Regions from separate parts of the Homo sapiens genome. Here region 2 is linked to region 1. The links are contacts of gene promoters, found by promoter capture Hi-C in blood cells and fetal thymus (Javierre and others, 2016). All regions are on one chromosome and are shown on one strand. The core of a region is centred on a gene start or on the middle of the fragment in contact, and the rest is flanking DNA. Distances in the headings are between cores, read along the strand shown. Region 1 holds the start of CD300LD (CD300 molecule like family member d). Region 2 overlaps CD300A (CD300a molecule).

Region 1 (3,549 bases), core at 740-3,239:
AGTCCATTAAACCTCTTTTTCTGTGTAATTTACTCAGTCTCGGGTATGTCCTTATCAGCAGCGTGAAAATGGACTAATACACTGTGACTTCGTTTTCTATAAGTGGGAATAGTAATGGCATCTACCTCTATGTTACTATATTATGTTTGTTATTATTATTATTATTATTATTACCCCTGGATGAATGAAAACTTTAGACTTCATTGGAATGTCTTGAAAAACCAGGGTCACCATGGTGGGAGCGGAAGACAATTTCACCATAAACAGGCAGAGCTCCACAACCCAAGGAATTCCTGGAACAGAAATTGGACTCCATGCCCAAATCTGCTTTCTATGGCATCTGAAGGGAACTAAGAAACTACACACGACCTCCTGGGGAAAGATGGGTATAGGGGCTTCATTTGTTCACTCTGAAAAAAGTTCTACATCAGAATGGAAAGACAACAATTAAGGTAAATATTTAAAGAAAAACTACATCTGGAAGTTATTTATAAGAAATAAGAGCTGGGTGTGGTAGCTCACACTTGTAATATAACAACTTTGGGAGGCTGAGGCAGGAGAATCGCGTGAGCCCTGGAGCTTGAGAGCAGCCCTGGCAACATAGCGAGACTAAATAAATAAATAAATATTAGCTGGGTGTCGCACCACATGCCTGTAGTCCCAGCTACTCACTCAGGAGGCTGAGGTGGGAGGATGGCTTGAGCCTGGGAGGTCAAGGCTGCAGTGAACCCTGATCCCAGCACTGTACTCCAGATTGGGTGACAGAGCACACCCTGTCTCAGAAGGAAGGAAAGGAAGGAGAATATATCTGAAAATTGTTTACAGAATATAAATTTGAAGCCAGGCATGGTGGCTCACACCTATAATCCCAGCACTTTGGGAGGCCAAAGTGGGAGGATCACTTGAGCCCAGGAGTTTGAGACCAGCCTGGGCATGAAAGTGAGTCCTCATCTCTACAAAAAAAAAAAAAATAAAAATAATAATAATAATAATAATAATCTATTTTAAAAGAAAATAAATTTGAGATTGGAAGGAAAAATTTTCTTACAAAGCTTGATCTGAGTATAGATAATATGAGAAGCACATAGATTTGTTACATTTTAACAGAAATGAAAACACTACGTATCAAAATTTGTTGACATGACAGCCAAAGCTGTACTCAAATATAAATCCTTGGGAAAAAGGTTTGATGCTTCCTCAAAAAGTTAAACATAGAATTAACATAGGATTCAGCCATTTTACCCCTAGATATATACCCAAGAGAACTGAAAACATATCTCCATACAAAACTGTGCTATGAAAGTTCATAACATTATTACTAACAATTTTTAAAAGGTAGAAACAACCCTAAGGTTCATTGACAAATGACTGGAGAAACCAAATGTGGTATATCCACTGTGAAATACTATGCAGCCATGAAAAAGAATGAAGCTTTGATTTGTGCTACAACACAAAGTAACCTTGAAACATCATGCTAAGTGAAAGAAGCACTCCAGCCTGGGTGACAGAGCGAGACACCAGCTCAAAAAAAAAAAAAAAAAAAAGTTCTTCAAGAATGGACTCACTCATTAGTTCCTTCCTTCATTGATATCTGTTCATTCATCTGTTTATATGGAACAGTCAGGGTTGAGAACCACTGTTCCAACAAGAAGCTATACTTGTTTTGTTTTGTGTGTGTTTGTTTCTGCAGCATCTAACACAGAACCTGTCAGATAACAAAAACTTGATTGCTATTTAATGAATATGGGCATGGATGGATGAATTGGCGCTGTCATTTTCCCTGACATGTCTCCTTCCTGAGAACAGAGCGTCTCTGTCTCCAAGCCAGCCGCTGTCATTCCAGTGCCTTAAAGCTCCAGCCACACTCACCTGGGAGGATGAGAAGCAGCAGAGATGGGGACAGCCACATGGTCCTGTCTCCTCTCCTCTCCTTGGTGATCACAGGTGTCTGGTGCCCTTCAGGGACTTGAATCCAAGCTCGGAAGTCAACACCGCAAACCTACTCGAATCTCCTTCAAGTCTCTTGCTCACTTCCTGTTACATCTGTAGCTACTTCTCTTTTTACATATTAGGAGAAAAGAGGTGTCATTCTTTGAAAAGACTAAGGTACAGTGTATGTTGCAAGGTGTGCCCAAACTTTTGTGCATGTGGAAAAGAAAATGTGTCCGGGACTGGTCAGGTTTGCACGGGAGTGCACGTAGGAGCCAAGGAGCAGGAGGAGCCAGGAGGAACCCAAGCATTGAGGAGCTGCGGGATCTACTGCCTGGAGGAGAGGACGGACAAGGCCAGCCATGAGGAGTGCAGGGAGAGGAGCACTTTGGGAAGACCACAGTGCACAGGACTCACACCCAGCCTTGCTGGAGAAAGCCCATGCCCCAGGCTTCTTCCAGGCAGCCCCACTGTAAGACATCTCATTGCCTCTTCCTGCCCTGGGCTGTCTGACCCACTGCCCCTTCCCCCAGGAACACTTCCACTGGGATCATGAGTCACTCTGAAGCCACTCTGAAATCACTCTGAAGCCAAAGCTGGGCTCAGTGGGGAAGGTCAGGAATGGAGAAATTGCCTTTTCTCGTTAGCCTCCTCTTGCCCTGATTTCATCCTCCCTATCCCTGCACACTTTCCCCTGGCTGCTGTTGTAATCTACTTGTTCTGCTGACGCCCGAACTGACTTCTTTCCCGGTCTCTCCCCACTTTCTTTAGATGGTCCCTTCCCTCTTTCTCTCCCTTTCCCTCCTGAATCGATTCATTTTTTCTCTCCTGTTTTATATTTTCCATATCTGTGGGCTTTGTTCTACATTTGGGGAGCTTTTTATATTGTTTATTTCATGCTTGTACTTTCCCTTCCAATCCTTGGATCAAATATTGATTTTAGAGACTGTATTTTTATTTCGAAAAGTTTTTTTGGTTCTTTGATTACTGATGTTTTCAAACTCTCTTCTGTTCCTTGAACTATATCCCTCCACTCAGTGGTCACATCTTTGTTTTGTTGTCTGCTTCTTCTATATTATGAGCCTTCCTCAAGTGTCTGCTGATTCTTGGTTATCCAATCATAGTTGAGAACAAGATAAAGTGTAGCTAACTGAGACCTCAGAGTATGTAGGAGTAAATAGTATATAAAATAGCTCTGGTGGCTCATGCCTGTAATCCAGCACTTTGGGAGGCCAAGGCGGACAGACCACCTGAGGTCAGGAGTTCGAAACCAGCCTGGCCAACATGGAGAAACCCCATCTCTACTAAAAATACAAAAATTAGCCAGGTGGTGGCACACGCCTGTAATCCCAGCTACTCAGGAGGCTGAGGCAGGAGAATCGCCTGAACCTGGGAGGTGGAGATTGCAGTGAGCCCAGATTGCACCACTGCTCTCTAGCCTGGGCAAAAAAACTAGTTCCAAAAAAGACACTTGTACACGCATGTTTATAGCAGCACAATTTGCGATTGAAAACATAGGGAACCAGCCTAAATGCCCATCAAGCAATGAGTGGATAAAGACAATGCGGTGTACATATACACCATGGAATACTATTCAGCCACAAAAAGGAACAAAATAAT
Region 2 (3,549 bases), core at 672-3,171, 110 kb before region 1:
GTGGTGGCCTGTGCCTGTAGCTGGAGGCTGAGGCAGGAGGATCACTTGAGCCCAGGGGTTCAAGGCTGCAGTGAGCCATGATCACCACTGCACTCCAGCCTGGGTAACAGAGCCAGATCCTGTCTCAAAAAATAAAAATAAAAAATAAAAATAAAAAAGTAAGTTGGAGAAGGCAAGTTGGCCCCGCCCTTACCATCCTGTGCCTCCTCCAGGCTCCCGCTGCTCCTCTCCCTGCTGGCATTGTTGCTGCTTCTGTTGGTGGGGGCCTCCCTGCTAGCCTGGAGGATGTTTCAGAAATGGATCAAAGGTGAGTTGGCTCCCCACACCCCTCTGCCCCACCTGGGGTGGTCAGACCCTGACCACAGACGCTCATCTTCAAAGCTATGTCCACGTCCCACAGTATTGCTATGACATGTGACACCCAGACCACACATCCTAGGTGATCCTACAGGGCAGGTCCCATGGGAGGCATCCTTGTGCGTGGTGGTTACAGGCTGTGAGAGGTGGCTCCCAAGCAGGAGGCTTTCCCACTTCCAGGCCAAGGGTGGTTGCCCCATGAAGCAATGACCCTCTTCTGTTTAAAACCCTGGCATGGTGTGCTGGGTGCAGTGGTGTGCATCTGTAGTTCCAGCTACTCAGGAGGCTGAGATGGGAGGATTGCTTGATCCCAGGAATTCAAGACCAGCCTGCGCAACACAACAAGGCTCCCGTGTCTATAAGATAAAATAAACCCTTGCATGGTCTCCCCCACCATAAAAAGTCCAGGTATCTACAGGAGTCACTGCCCTCCACGATCTGGCTCTACCCACCTCCCTCTCCCCATCCGCGCACCCTGGAAACCAACTTCTTGTATCTCCTTTAATGACAGCCTCAACCTCAGCCTCTCCTCTCCTTCTGGGTTTGCTCTGGGCTGGAGGGCCTCCCCTGCCCCCTCTCCCCAGCTCACTCCCAGTGGACTCCAACAGTGGTCCTCAGACTTTCTTTTCTCTGGGACCTTTTCTTTGACTCCAAAGAGTGGCTTGGGGCCCCTCCTGGCTATACCTCTGCTGTCACAGCCTTTTGGGAACCAGACTGTCATTGCTGGTGTCCTCATCTGCCTTCCCACAGGCATGTGCTTCAAGGAGGTACAGAACCAATATTTGTCAAATTAATGTGTTATTCAGTATCTCCAGCTGCAACGGGCACCCCAGGGGCCTCCAGGCAATCTCTAGTCCAGCTGCCCTCCTCTGAGCTCAGATTAAAAGAGAGAACAGGAACTCTTGGCACTCAGTAAGTAGATGCTCAATAAATAGCTGATAGGCAAATTGAATAAGCACAGGAACAGAGGAACAAGTGGAGGTGTGGCCACCAGTCCTCTAGATTGCAGATCCCTGGCCGAGGTCAAGTGTAAGCCTGAAGCTTCCTCCCTGTTCGGAGAGTTGAAGATTCCACAGGCAGAAGATTCTCAGGGGAATCTTTGTCCAAAGCCTTCCAAGACTGCAGTGAGACTGGGGTGGGAAGAGATGGGGTTATCCTGTCCCATAGCTGCAGGATAAGCTGCTGCATGCTTGGTGGGGGGCACTGCTCACACATATCCCCAGTGCCTCCTGTGGCGCCCAGGCTTTTGGCGGAGAAATCAGCCTCAGTAGATCTGTGCAGGGTGTATGGGAAGAAAACCACTTCCTCTTTCCCATCTGCTTTGTGTGTGTCATTTTCTGGTAATCCCATCCTAAACTTCAGCACCCACGTGGATGCCACTGGGTTGTCTCAGTTCTGAGCCCCTTTCGGTTTCCTTTGTGCCCTTTCACCCAGAAAGTCTCTGGCTCCTCAAAGAGCCTCCTCCCCCCTTGAAAAGGATGTATGTGATTATTGTAGGAAGTTTGAAAAATGAGCAAAAGCACAAAGAAGGAAATAAATCCCCCATCATCGATGATAACTAAAAACCCCACCACCTAGAGAAAACCAGCCACTGGCCCCTGAGGTATATCCTTCCAGTCTTTTTTTCTATGCCTATGTAAATGCATCTATGATTTCTTTTTTTTTCTCTTTTTTGAGACAGAGTCTCACTCTGTCACCCAGGCTGGCGTGCAGTGGCATGATCTTGGCTCACTCCAGCCTCGACCCCCCACTGCCCGGGGCTCCAGTGATCCTCCTGCCTTAGCCTCCCAAATAGCTGGGACTACAGGTGCTCACCACCACGTCTGGCTAATGGTTAAATTTTTTTTTTTAAGAGATGGGGTTTCACTATGTTGCCCAGCCTGGTCTTGAACTCCTGAGCTCAAGCCCAGAGTGCTGGGATTACAGATGTGAGCCACCACACCCAGTCATGCATCTGCGATGTCTTAACAAATTGGCCTCATACCACTCATTCTCTTTTAAACCTACATTTTTGCACTTAACATATGGTACCATGTTCCCAGCTAGTAAATGTTCTAAAAATCACAGACGCAGAGTTTACTGGTGTCTTAAGCTTCCTGTAACCCATCCTCAGTAACAAGATAAAGGCTTTCTATTCAAACATTTTTGACTCTCTGTCCCCTGCTTTGCAAGTCCGTGCCCCATCCCCTGACTGTGTGGCTGGGGCTGACTTCCCCTTGCCCTGCCTGGAGCCTGACACCTGCCTCATCACACCTACTCCCCACTCTTTCCCCCAGCCCACATTTGTCGTTCATTCATTCGTACAACAAAGCTGTCCTGAGCACCTACTGTGTGCCAGGCCTGTGCTGGGCCCTGGGGACAACATTGTGACTGGGGTAGACTGGGTCTTACCTTCAGTGAGCTTCCCCTACCGCTGGCTCCCCCAAACCTTCTCACTACCACCCTCCTTCCCGGGCGTTGAACTCCTGTCTCTTCCCCACCAGCTCTTTTTCTCCTTCCCATCAGAACACTTGTCCCAGGTGGGGACAGGGAGGGCAGTGTGGTGCCTGCGCACAGCACTTGGAAGCAGGGCACTTCGCACCCCAGAGTACCCGGCTGCGCACTCCATTAGGTCAGCTGTGGCTCAGCAAGCCCGTCACTATACGTGGTCTTGTGTCTCCCAACCGTGGGCTCCTCCCCTTTAATTCTGGGGGAGGAGCCCACAGATCCCCACAGCATCCAGTGCAGTGGGCTCTGGGGTTGCCTGGCTGTGGACCTAACCAAGGGCATCAGCAGCGTGTGTGTCACCCGCTGCCCACGTGGTCCGGGCTCCTGGGGTGAAAGGGTTAGGGTGTACAGGGCTGTGCTCATAGGCAGCACCCTTATAGAGCAGGTGCCAGCAGCCAAGGGCTGTGTGAGCCTGAGCTGGCGTCCCTGGGGCTGACAGGCCTCCTTCCCTACGGCCTGGGGCAGCAGGCAGGTGGGCTGTCTGGGAGGGCAGACCTCAGGCACGGGGATGGGAGCAGAGGCCCCAGCAACTTCCCACAGTCTGATGCAGCCCTAAGCCCCAGATGCACAGGGCTTTTCAGTGGCATCCTTCCTCCCCTGGAAACATTTGTGTGAGATCCCGTGTTGAGAGCTTGTTTTGGTCCCTCTCCTCCAGCTGGGAGCTTTCTTTCCTTTCTTTCTTTCTTTTTTTCGTTTTTGAGACAG

Evidence for each region. Contacts are between HindIII fragments. The CHiCAGO score rates a contact against its expected background, and 5 or more counts as called.
Region 2: a fragment that was not itself captured here is called in contact with the fragment with the promoter of CD300LD in region 1 in 1 of 17 cell types (monocytes); the score reaches 6.0 in monocytes.

The regions. Positions count from the first base shown.
Region 1 is chr17:74,590,294-74,593,842 of GRCh38, forward strand. CD300LD (CD300 molecule like family member d) reads right to left here and starts at 1,990. Exons shown (of 4, transcript NM_001115152.2): 1 at 1,870-1,990. The coding sequence starts at 1,909. It overlaps CD300LD-AS1 (CD300LD antisense RNA 1), which reads left to right. Exons shown (of 3, transcript NR_171003.1): 2 at 226-452; 3 at 1,691-3,549. RefSeq lists an enhancer at 1,894-2,023. The HindIII fragment of the contact is 5,067 bases long and covers 1,430-3,549 here.
Region 2 is chr17:74,477,224-74,480,772 of GRCh38, forward strand. CD300A (CD300a molecule) reads left to right here. Exons shown (of 7, transcript NM_007261.4): 4 at 213-307. Among named protein-coding and RNA genes, the nearest start is that of CD300A, 12 kb to the left of the region's middle. RefSeq lists enhancers at 1,713-1,792, 1,803-1,852. The HindIII fragment of the contact is 1,051 bases long and covers 1,397-2,447 here.